Regions from separate parts of the Homo sapiens genome. Here region 2 is linked to region 1. Evidence: promoter capture Hi-C in human tissues and cell types (Jung and others, 2019). All regions are on one chromosome and are shown on one strand. Each heading gives the region's core, a stretch centred on a gene start or on the middle of the fragment in contact. The rest is flanking DNA. Distances are from core to core; before and after follow the strand shown. Region 1 holds the start of ZNF443 (zinc finger protein 443). Region 2 holds the start of ZNF440 (zinc finger protein 440).

Region 1 (5,796 bases), core at 11-2,510:
GGAATTACAGGAATGACCCACCGTGTTCAGGAACCCAAAACAATTCTTTCAAGAAAAAGCCATACATTGCTAGCTGAAAACAAGATGACAAACTAGTGAAATATCGCCTGGGGCCAAACAGTTCATACTGTTGCTGTGAATTAAGGACAGAAGGTTAGCCTGGGGAAGTCTCTGGAAACCAAGAGATTTGCTGCCAGCCCTAGGAAGAGTCAGGATGAGAGAACACAGTGGTGGATTTGAGACCCTGCTGCCCACGTCTTTGGAAGACTCAGAGGGGAAACGGTCGCCCTTGGAAAGGAAGAAAGGACTGAGGACCACGGAAACCACAGCTCCTCCCACACACAAACCCCACACACGAGTCTGGATTCCACCTGGTGACTCGTCGTCACCGTGCAGCCTCCTCACCGGGTTCACAGGAACTGCGAGCCAGGCTGGAGGCGAGATTGCAGTTAGATATTAAACAGGTGCCCTCAGCCCCGCTGCCTCAAGGGGCCGCCTCCCTGAGAGTCAGGTCACAGCAGACGCTGACCGCCGGCTTCCCCATTGTGCCTGGGGATAAGATCTCCGAGTGCTGCTCAAGAGTCGCCGGAGTTCTCAGATCCTGAATCCCAGCAGAAAGGCTGGCGCCAACCAGGTTGAAGACCCCACGAGGGAGCCCTCTCAGCAGAATGCGGTTTCTTCACCTCCTGTCCCAGGATTCACCCCTCACTTCCCCACCAACCAAGGACGCTACACCCAGCCGCCCCCGTCCAGACCCCAAATCCCTCAGGGAGGCGGATCTGGGGTGTCCTCCCCTCTCCTCCTGTTAAACCGTTTCTGCTGCAGCCCTCGGCGTCTCGGTGCAGTGAGTCGGGCCGCGAACCTGTGTTGGTTACAGCCGCACAATCTGGGGAGACCCGGGGCTGCGGGCTCGGAGCTGCCCAGAGAGGGCGCCGGGGCCGCAGTCGCCGCGCAGGAACGGGACAGGACGCCCGGGGTCCCGGCTGCATGCCCAGCCCCACCCTGCGGCCGAGGGCCGACCTACGCCAGGGGGACCCGGGTCCGTAGATCCCGAAGTCGCCCTTGGGGAGGCCCGGGTCCAGCCACAGCCGATTACGGCCGGTTCCACCTAACCCCTCCCCCGCCTCGGGACGCCGGCCCAGCACACGCACCATTTCCCGACTTCCGCGGTGTCCCAGGTCCTACCGACAGCTCCCGCTGCCAATGCGTGTTCCAGCCAGACAAAGGCTGCCTCAGAACTTCCAGGTCGTCTCTCAGCTACAGAACCCAGAGCCGAGCGCAGGTGGGTGGAGCAGACGCCGCGGGCTTTTTCAACCACACACACTTCTCTGGGCAGTGCCTGATTGACAGTTCCCACGAACCCGCCCCACGCCCCTGATTGGATAGGGCGTCAGGTCCCGCCCCCTGAGGGCTGATTGACAGAAGAAGCGATCTTGCACAGCTGAGTGGAGCCGGATGAGCAAGTTCCTGACACAGCCCTTGGCAGGGGGGGCTTCCTCCCTGCTCTTTGATCTGAATCCTCCCGGGTTATATTTGCACTTAAGCGGAATTTCCTGCCCGTACTCAATAGGACCTCCTGCTTCTTCCTCCTGGACACGGACTGACAAACTAATTATATCTTTTTTTTTTTTTTTCCTCGAGAGGGAGTCTTGCTCTGTCGCCCAGGCTAGAGTGCAATGGTGCGAGGCTCACTGCAACCTTCGCCTCCTGGGTGGGTTCAAGCAATTCTCCTGCCTCAGCCTCCCGAGTAGCTAGGATTACAGGCACGCGCCACCACCCGGCTAATTTTTGTATTTTTCAGTAGAGGCTGGGTTTCACCATGTTGGCCAGGCTGGTCTCAAACTCGTGACCTCGTGATCCGCCTACCTTGGCCTCCCAAAGTTCTGGGATTAGAGGCGTGAGCAACTGCGCCTGGCTCCAATTATGCTCTTTTTCAATGAAATTTTTCAAGATTTTTCAATGTACAATTAAATTATTTTTTACTATAGTCACTCTGTTGTGCTAGCAAATACTAGGTCTTATTCATTCTTTGTAACTATTTTTTATACCTATTAACCATCCCCACTTCCCCCATAACTACTCCTCGCTACTACTTTTCGCAGCCTCTGGTAACCATCCTTCTACACATTTTTGGTTGTTTGAGATGGGGTCTTGCTCTGTTACCTAGGCTGGAGTGCAGTGGGGCCATCATGGCTCACTGCAACCTCTACCTCCTAAGCTCAAGCAATCCTCCCACCTCAGCCTCTCAAGTAGCTTCAGATTGTTCACTGTTGGCATATAAAAATGTTATTGATTTTTGTGTGTTGATATTGTATACTGCAACTTTACTGAATTTATTTCTCAGTTCTAATACTTTTTTGGTGGAGTCTTTAGGTATTTCCAGATATAAGATCATATTATATGCAAACAAGGATAATTTGACTTCTTCCTTCCCAATATGGATGCCCTTTATTTCTTTTTTTTTCTTTTTTTTTTTTTTGTCTTATTGCTCTAGCTGGGACTTCAAGTACTGTGTTGAACAACAGTGGTAAAAGTGGGCATTCTTATTGTGTTCCAGATCTTACAGGAAGGGCTTTCAGTTTTTCCCCATTCATTATCATGCTAGCTGTGGGTCTGCCATATATAGCTTTTATTATGTTAAGGTATGCTCCTTCTTTACCCACTTTTTTTTAGGGTTTTTATCATGAAGGGATGTTAAATATTATCAAAAGCTTTTTCAGTGCACATTGAAATGATTATATGGTGTTTGCCCTTTATTCTGTTGAAATGATACATCACATTGATTGATTTGCATATATTGAACCATCCTTGCATCCCAGGGATAAAGCCCACTTGGTCATGATGAATGATCTTTTTGGTGTATTGTTAAATTCAGTTTGCTAGTATTGAGTTGAGGATTTTTGCATCAATATTCATCAGTGACACTGGCCTATAGTTTTCTTTTTCTGACATGTCTTTGTCTGGTTTTGGTGTCAAAGTAATATTGGCTTTGTAAAATAAATTTGGAAGTATTGCCTTCTCCTCTGTTTTTTGGAATAGTTTGAGTAAGATTGGTATTAGTTCTTTTTTAAATGTTGGTAGAATTCAGCAGTGGAGCCACTGGGTTCTGGGGTTTTCTTTGCTAGGAGACTTTTTATTATGGCTTTGATCTCATTATTTGTTATTGGTCTGTTCAGGTTTTTTATTTCTTCATGGTTCAATGTTGCTATGTTCTATCTGCCTAGGAATTTATCAGTTTCTTCTAGGTTTTCCAGTTTATTGGCATATAGTTGTTCTTAGTTGCATTAATGATCCTTTGAATTTCTGCAGTATCAACTGTAATGTCTCCTTTTTCACCTCTAATTGTATTTATTTGGGCCTGGTTTTTTCTTAGTCTACCTCAAGGTTTGTCAATTTTGTTTGTCTTTTCAAAAAACCAACTTTTTGTTTCATTGTTCTTTTCTATTGTTTCTTCATTTCAAATTCATTTATTTCTACTGATTTTTATTATTTCTTTTCTTCTACTGATTTTGGGTTTGGTTTGCTCTTGCTTTTCTAATTCTTTAAGATGCATTCTTAGGTTGTTTATTTGAAGGTTTTCTTCTTCTTCTTTTTTTTTTTTTGAGATGAGTTTCACTTCACTCTTGCAGCCTAGGCTGGAGTGCAATGGCGCAATCTCAGCTCACTGCCACCTCTGCCTTCTGGGTTCAAGCAGTTCTCCTGCCTCAGCCTCCCAAGTAGCTGGGATTACAGGCACCGACCACCATGTCATTTTTTGTATTTTTAGTAGATACAGGGTTTCACCATGTTGGCCAGGCTGGTCTCGAACTCCTAACCTCAGGTGATCCACTCCCTTTGGCCTCCTAAAGTGCTGGGATTACAGATGGGAGCCACTGCACCCAGCCTGAAGGTCTTCTTCTTTTTTGATGTAGGTGCTTATATCTATAAACTTCCCTCTTAGTACTGCTTTTGCTGTATTCCATAGGTTTTGGTATGTTGCATTTTCATTATCATTTGTTTGAAGAAACTTTTCAATTTTCTTCTTAATTTCTTCATTGACCCACTCGTCATTCAGGAGCGTATTGTTTAATTTCCATATGTTTGTATGGTTTCCAGAATTCCTCTTGTCATTGGTTTCTAGTTTATTCCACTTATTCTGTGACACAATTTATATTATTTCAATTTTTCGGAGCGTTTTAAGACATGTTTTTTGACCTAACATATGGTCTATCCTTGAGAATGATTCCTGTGCTCAGGAAAAGTATGTGTATTCTGTAGCTGTTGGATAAAATGTGCTGTAAATATCTATTAGGTCCATTTGATCTATAGTGTAGATTAAATCCCATTTAATCTTTCTTTTGTCCAATTTTTCAGTATATATTGAAATAATCTTTGTTGATTTACTGTCTGGAAGATCTGTCCAGTTCTGAATATGGGGTGTTAAAATCTCCAGCTATTAGTGTATTGGTGTCTATCTCTCTCTCTCTCTTTTTTTTTTTTTTTTTGAGACAGAGTTTCACTCTTGTTGCCTAGGCTGGAGTGTAGTGGTGCAATCTTGGCTTACTGCAGCCTCCACCTCCAAGGTTCAAGCAATTCTCCTGCCTCAGTCTCCCAAGTAGCTAGGATTACAGGTGCCCACCACCACACCTGGCTAATTTTTTGTATTTTTAGTAGAGACGGGGTTTTGCCATGTTGGCCAGGCTGGTCTTGAACTCCTGGCCTCAGGTGATCCACCTGCCTTGGCCTCGCAAAGTGCTGGGATTACAGGCATAAGCCACCATGCCCGGCCCTCTCTCTTTTTACCTAATAATATATGTTTTCTATATCTGAGTGCTCCAATGTTGGGTGCATATATGTTCACAATTGTTACATCGTCTTGCTGAATTGACCTCTTTATAATTGCATAGTGACCTTCTTTGACTTTTCTTACAGTTTTTGTCTCGAAATATATTTTGTCTAAGTATTGCTACTCCTGCTCTTTATTGGTTTCCACTGGCATGGAATATGTTTTTCCATTCCTTTATTTCCAGTCTATGGGTTTCTTTATAGGTGAAGTGTGTTTCTTGTGGGCAACAGATCATTAGGTCTTGTTTTTTTAATCCATTTAGCCATTCTATGATTTTTGATTGGATAGTTTAATTCATTTACATTCAGTGTTATTATTAGTAAGTGAGAACTTACTCCTGCCATTTTGTTATTTGTTTTCTGGTTGTTTTTTCATCTTCTCTCCCTTCTTTCCTTCCATCCTGTCTTCTTTTTAGTGAAGGTGACTTTCTCTTGTGGTATGATTTAACTTCTTACTTTTTATTTTTTGTGTATCTGTTGTACATTTTTTGACTTGAGGTTGCCATGAGGTTTGCAAATACTATCTTATAACCCATAATTTTAAGCTGATGACAACTTAATGCTGTTGTATAAACAAAGAAACAAACAAAAAGAAATCTAATGAAAACTCTATGCCTTAACATCATACCCGCTTCTTAACTTTTCTTTGTTTCTATTTATATATTGCTTGTACTGTCTGTGTTTTGAAAAGTTGTTGTAGTTATTATTTTGGATTTGTTCATCATTTATTCTTTCTACTTAAGAATAATTTACGGCCAGGCGCGGTGGCTCAAGCCTGTAATCCCAGCACTTTGGGAGGCCAAGGCGGGCAGATCACAAGGTCAGGAGATCGAGACCATCCTGGCTAACACGGTGAAACCCTGTCTGTACTAAAAATACAAAACATTAGCCGGGCATGGTGGCAGGTGCCTGTAGTCCCAGCTACTTGGGAGGCTGAGGCAGGAGAATGGCGTGAACCCAGGAGGTGGAACT
Region 2 (6,621 bases), core at 2,941-5,440, 630 kb before region 1:
CCAATCACTTTTTTGAAGTGCCAGCCAAACTCTTCTTCAGAGAAGCCTGTTTGAAACCCCCTAGAGTCAAAACCTGGTACCACAGGACAGAGCAGCAATGAGTGACCAACCCCTGACTCTATGTGCAGATGACACATCCATCCCCAGATTAGGTATCAACATAAGTGAAAGGTACTGTCATTGCCTGTCATTTTTTTTTTTTTTGAGATGGAGTCTCACTTTGTCACCCAGGCTGGAGTGCAGTGGCACGATCTTGGCTCACTGCAACCTCTGCCTCCTGGGTTCAAGCTATTGTCCTGCCTCAGCCTCCCAAGTAGCTGGGATTACAGGTGCCCGCCACCACACCCGGCTAATTTTTGTATTTTTAGTAGAGACGGCGTTTCACCATGTTGGCCAGGCTAGTCTTGAACTCCTGACCTTGTGATCCACCTGCCTCGGCCTCCCAAAGTGCTGGGATTACAGGCGTGAGCTACTGCACCCAGCCCATTGCCTATCAGTTTTTATAGAGTGTCGCTTAGATCAAGAAAGAGATGGTAATACAGAGTTAGGTGTGTCTGAAACCAAACACGACCTCATCCTTCTCCCTTGAAGGCCAAATGCACTCTGAGAGTTTGGTTAGAGTACAAACAACGCCACCAACTTCACTCCAGATGTGATTTTCTACAGGAGGCGGGCACTGTGTTGGGATGGCCAGTGAAGGTAAGGAACACTAGAGGTGCAGGTTTAGGTGATGAACAGGACACAGCCTGGACATTATTAGCCTTGACTATGGAGGTGTCTTGATGTTTCTCAAATTGAGACCAGTCTGGCCAACAGGATACTGAACTGGTTTTCGATGGAAAAATTCATCTGTATAGGGATCTATTCGCTTCCTTTAAGTTTCAGTTTCGTTATGTGGCATTTAGCATGAGTGACTCCATTTTGGTCTGATCTGGTTTCTAAGTGCCTAGTGCAGAAGCTCAGTCCAAAACAATGGCCTCCCATAATGTTCATTTTAACATTTTCTTTATACTAATACATTATATCAGGTCACCTCAAATGTCACCTCCACAGAGGGTTCTTCCTCTCACCTCAGTTAGTCCTACTTCTTTCCATTCAGTTTTTTGTTACACTGCACTTTTTAGGATCTGGGAAATCTAATCAAAGTTCACAGGGTTTATTGCTTATTCTTTTTCTTTTTCTTTTTCTTTTTTTGAGACAGAGTCTCTCTTTGTCGCTGCCCAGGCTGGAGTGCAATGGTGTGATCTCGGCTCATTGCAACCTCCACCTTCCAGGTTCAAGCGATTCTCCTGCTTCAGCCTCCTTAGTAGCTGGGATTACAGGCATGCACCACCACACTCAGCTAATTTTTGTATTTTTAGTAGAGATGGGGTTTCACCATGTTGGCTAGGCTGGTCTCGAACTCCCAACCTCAGGTGATCCACTCACCTCAGCCTCCCAAAGTGCTGGGATTACAGGCATGACCACTATGCCCAGCCAGGTTCATTACTTTTTAAAAATCAATCTATGAAAAATTAAATTGGCCAGGCATGGTGCCTCAGAACCTGTAATCCCAGCACTTTAGGAAGCTAAAGTGGGAGGGTCACTTGAGGCCAGGAGTTGGAGAGCAGTCTGGGCAACACAGTGAAACCCCATCTGTACAAAAAATACAAAAATTCGCTGGGCTTGGTGGCGCACACCTGTGGTCCCAGGCTCTACTTGGGAGGCTGAGGTGGGAGAATTGCTTGAGTCCGGAAGATCAAGGCTGCAGTGAGCTCTGTTTGCACCACTGTACTCCAGCCTGGGTGACAGAGGGAGACCTTGTAAAAAAAAAAAAAGAAAGAAAGAAAGAAAGAAAGAAAGAAAGAGAGAGAGAGAGAGGGAGAGAGAGAAAGAAAGAAAGAAAGAAAGAAAGAAAGAAAGAAAGAAAGAAAGAAAGAAAGAAAGAAAGAAAGAAAGAAGAAAAGAAAAGAAAAATCATGTAAATGAAACCAAATTCAGTGATGTTACCTTAACTTTTTTTCTTTTTTCGGGTAGAGACAGGGTCCCACTATGTTGCCCAGGCTGGTCTCAAACTCCTGGCCTCAAGCGATCCTCCTACCTTGGCCTTCCAAAATGCTGGTATTACTGGTGTGAGCCACCACACCTGTCCTACCTTTATTTCTAATAACTGATATGCCTTACATTAAAAAGTCTTTTAGAAAACACCTTTGAGCCATTTTCCAGATAGGGGAAGTCAATGAAGCTCCCTCTTGTGGTGAGGGCGACTTTAACATCCACACATCCTGTCTGGGGGACTGGATTTCTGAGTTGTGCTGAGACTTAAGAGTGGAAAAAAAGTCTACTCTTTTTCCTCTGCTCTCACACAACACGGAATACTTCTGTGACCAAATGCAAATATTTGAGAAGTGTCCCCCACATGCCAAGCAAAGCATCAATTCTGCAACTGACTCCAGCTCGATGTCTTCTAGTTCCAACACTTTCTACCTTTACATAAGGTACAAAACTGCCTCAGAAATCATCTGACCATGTGTCCCGGTTTGCCAGTGATAATCCTTGATAGTACCTGTTGTCCCAACATAGTTTTTCATAGCACCTCATCTTGCCATGGTTATCTGTGTCTGAACAATGAATATGTATGAATACTTTCACACATAAGCAAAATTAGGTTTATTAAATGAAGTTTCCAGGAATGTTCAAATTTCAACACCTGATTTACCTTATCACAAGTTATGGCTGTGCTAATTTCTCCAGGAAATATTCACAGAATATTGAATTTATCATTGTAAGGTGTGGAGCAATGAAGATGCCCAAGAGGCCAGGCGCACACCTGTAATCCCAACACTTTGGGAGGCTGAGGCTGGAGGATCACTTAAGCTCAGGAGTTTGAGATCAACCTGAACAACCGAATGAGACCTCATCTCTACCAAAAATAAAAAACTAGCCAGGCATGGTGGCAGGCACTTGTAGTCCCACCTACTTAGGAGGCTGAGGTGGGAGGATTGCTTGAGTCTGGGAGGTTGAGGCTGCATTGAGTAGCCATCGCACCACTGCACTCCAGCTTGGGCGACAGAGTGAGACCCCGTCTCAAAAAAAGATGGCTAAAACATAATTTTTTTTTTTTTGAGATGGAGTCTCACTGTGTCTCAGGCTGGAATGCAGTGGCACGATCTTGGCTCACTGCAAACTCTGCCTCCCGGTTCAAGCAATTCTCCTGCCTCAGCCTTTCAAGTAGCTGGGATTACAGGCATGCGCCACCATTCCTGGCTAATTTTTGTATTTTTAGTAGAGATAGGATTTCACCATGTTGGCCAGGCTGGTCTTGAACTCCTGACCTCGTGATCCACCTGCCTCAGCCTCTCAAAGTGCTGGGATTACAGGCATGAGCCACCGCGCCCGGCCTGCCTAAATCATAATTTCTATGACAGAATTTCTCATTTACAGCTTCCCCTGAGACCATCTTTCATTTCAGTTAACCCTGCTCCTTGGGGGTTATATGTGAGATAAAAGTGCCATGCTATATCATGTTCCCTGGCTCAGTCCTACACAGCATGTCCTGAAAAATGGGTCTTCAGTCACTGTCAATGCACCAGGGATAGATATACATAGTACTGAGAGCCTCTAAATCTTTAATAAGTTCTGGCTTGGTTAGCTCCCTTACAAGGAAAACCTTGCTGGAGTCCATAGCAGTGTGAGGAAGCCTTGGCCATGCCTCATCCCATTTCCCGCACGCTGGAAGACATCTGCCTCTCTCTCCTGGTGCAGTCGTGCCTTGCCTGGTCTGGGCTCCCCTCCTGCTCTGAGGCAAGCGTATCTCTCCATTGAACACTGAGTCTGAAATGCCCTGCACACACTTGTGATCCCGTGCAGAAGGAAGGAGCAGGGACAGCCCCTTGAATGAGGAAGCTAACAGTGCCTCTTCTAACAATAAGGAGCAAGTCGCCTTGAAATGCAAATATCTGATGACCAGGGCTCAAGGAAGGCGCTCGCTTAGAGAGGCTGTTCGCTTAGAGAGGCTGCTCGCTTAGAGAGGCTGCTCGCTCAGAGACGCTGTGGCCAGAACAAGTCAGACATGATCTGCAGGACCCGGTTACCCAGGGCTTCTGCTGTCACTCAGCACGGAGGAGGCGGGGCCTGGCGCCCCATCCAATCAGGGGTGCTGGGGCGGGGCCCTGTCAACTGTCCATCCGGGGAAGGGGGAAGGGACAGTCGCCCTCCGTCCATTCCTTTAGTGCTGCGCCGACAGCGGTCAGGATCTCGGCTTTCTTGCTTCGAGAGGGACTAGGTGCCTCCACCAGAGCTTCTGTCGCTCTGTAACCTGCACTGTGACCTACACTAGTCGCGGGAGCCACGCAGAGGACGCCGGAACACCCTGGAAGCCGAGAAATGGTGTGTGTGAGGGGGCTGGCGTCCGGGCGACTGGGAGAGGGGCTGGAATCGGCCGGAACCGGCTGAGGCGGGACCCGGGCCTCCACGCGGCGACTCCGGGGTCGTGGACGCGAGTCCCCTCGGTCGCAGGGTGGGGCTGGGCCGGCAGCCGGGACCCCGGGCCTCCTGTCCCGTCCCTTCACGGCGACTGCGGCCCCGGCTCCGGAGCCTAATCTGGGCAGCTCCGCGTCTCCCCACATTATGCGGGGGCCACGGGAGGGATATGGGGGGATCCCGCCTCGGATATGGGGTTTGTTAGAAACAAGTGCCCGGTGCCGCAAAGAAAACCAGCATCTAGGCAGAAAATTCCTCAGCAAAGCAAATTTATTTCTACACAAGGGTGCAGCTTGCGCCAGTCACAAGAGCACAGCGAGCGGGGTAGGGCAGGGGTTTTTCTCCTTAACGCAGTTTCTAGCACTTCTGTGTCCTTTCCTCATTGGCTAGGGTTGGACCTCACAATCTAAACTAACTCGATAGGCTAAGGTTTAAAATTAAATAGGGTCTGGCCAGGCGCGGTGGGTCACGCCTGTAACCCCAGCACTTTGGGAGGCCGAGGCAGGCGGATCGCGAGGTCAGGAGATCGAGACCATCCCTGGCTAACACGGTGAAACCCCGTCTCCACTAAAAATACAAAAAAATTAACTGGGTATGGTGGCGGGCGCCTGTAGTTCCAGCTACTCGGGAGGCTGAGGCAGGAGAATGGCGTGAACCCGGGAGGTGGAGCTTGCAGTGAGCCGAGATCGCACCACTGTACTCCAGCCTGGGCAACAGAGCGAGACAACTGGGCAACTCCGTCACACACACACACACACACACACACACACACACACACACACAAATTAAATAGGGTCTATGAGACGGGAAGGAACAGGGACTGTCCGTTACTAGGCGGGAAGGCGTATCTGGACTTGTCTGGGCGCGGCAAAAGCGGGAAGGTTGTTTACAGAACAGGTAGCTAGGAGACAAGGAAGTCGGTCTCAAGAAACAAAGAACAGCTTACTAAAGCTTTTAGAAAAGTAATTTATCATCTCTGACAGGTTCGTGTGGGAGGAGTAGCGGTCTTTGGGGTCCCCAGTGCCCACTTTTTTCTGTTAAAAATTAAACTGAGGTACGTTAACAATTAAAGAGTTTAGGGCCGGGCGCGGTGGCTCACGCCTGTAATCCCAGCACTTTGGGAGGCCGAGGCGGGCGGATCAGGAAGTCAGGAGTTCAAGACCAGCCTGGCCAACATGGTGAAACCCCATCTCTACTAAAAATACAAAAATTAGCTGGGCATGGTGGCGCGTGCCTGTAATCCCAGCTACTTGAGAGGCTGAGGCAGAAGAATTGCTTGAACCCAGGAGGCGGCGGTTGCAGTCAGCCAAGACGGCGTCACTCCAGCCTGGCAACAGAGCCAGACTCCATCTCAAAACAACAACAACGATTCACGAATGAGAAACACCCAGTCCTGGCTTGTGGTTTGTCAACGGAAAAAGCCAAGCTATGTAAAATAAAGAAGTTTATTAGGAGCCGAATAGGAGAGCCGTTGGCCGAGGGAAACACAACCCCAAGCAGCCTGGAGTAAGTGGTCCCGAGGCAGCTCAAGACAGTTTGGTTTTATTCATTTCAGAGAGACAGGAATTGCAGGGAAAATCATGAATCAGTGCCTGGAAGGTGTAAGTTCCATTGGCAGAAAGGGTGGGACCTGTGGAAGGGGGGTTAGAAGGCACAGGTAGTTGAGGGATTCTGTAGGTGGCAGCTGGTTGAGAGTGTTGAATCTTTGTCTAAAGTTTGGAGGAGGTAGGAAGGAATGCTGAAGGAAGGGGGTCTGTTATCTGCCACTTCATTCCATCCCAGCCAAAAAACAGACCTGTTTCTCGAGATTTTATGAATTCTAAGGCGTAACTTTACCTTTGCCTTGCGTGGCCTTAGGTCTTGTTTGTAATTTGGTATCTTGTTGCCACAAGGAGTCTGTTTTTCCAGTCAGATAATGTCTGTTTTTACATGAATGTGCGTCAGTTGCTGCATGTAAACTCCTAAAGGGAGAGGGTATAAGGAGACCTGTCTCACCTCCCATCCTGTCATACAGAGGCACTCAATTTTCAGGGTTTTTTGGGGGTTCCCTTGGCCAAGAGCCAGTCACTTCACTTAGCTGGGAAGGTACTTTGTTTTTGTTTTTGTTTGAGACAGAGTCTCCTGTAGCCCAGGGTGGTGTGCAGTGGCTCTATCTTGGCT

The links. The method cuts DNA at HindIII sites, captures the fragments that hold promoters and counts their contacts. A contact is called where the count stands out against the background at its distance.
Region 2: the fragment with the promoter of ZNF440 here is called in contact with the fragment with the promoter of ZNF443 in region 1 in 2 of the 25 tissues and cell types used here (IMR-90 fibroblasts and lymphoblastoid cells).

What each region holds. Positions count from the first base shown.
Region 1 is chr19:12,439,761-12,445,556 of GRCh38, forward strand. It overlaps ZNF443 (zinc finger protein 443), which reads right to left and starts at 1,261. Exons shown (of 4, transcript NM_005815.5): 1 at 1,152-1,261. The coding sequence starts at 1,154. RefSeq lists a silencer at 940-1,029 and an enhancer at 1,440-1,709. The HindIII fragment of the contact is 16,773 bases long and covers 1-5,796 here.
Region 2 is chr19:11,810,083-11,816,703 of GRCh38, forward strand. It overlaps ZNF440 (zinc finger protein 440), which reads left to right and starts at 4,191. Exons shown (of 4, transcript NM_152357.3): 1 at 4,191-4,368. The coding sequence starts at 4,366. RefSeq lists silencers at 2,182-2,291, 4,026-4,105, 4,526-4,595. The HindIII fragment of the contact is 18,958 bases long and covers 1-6,621 here.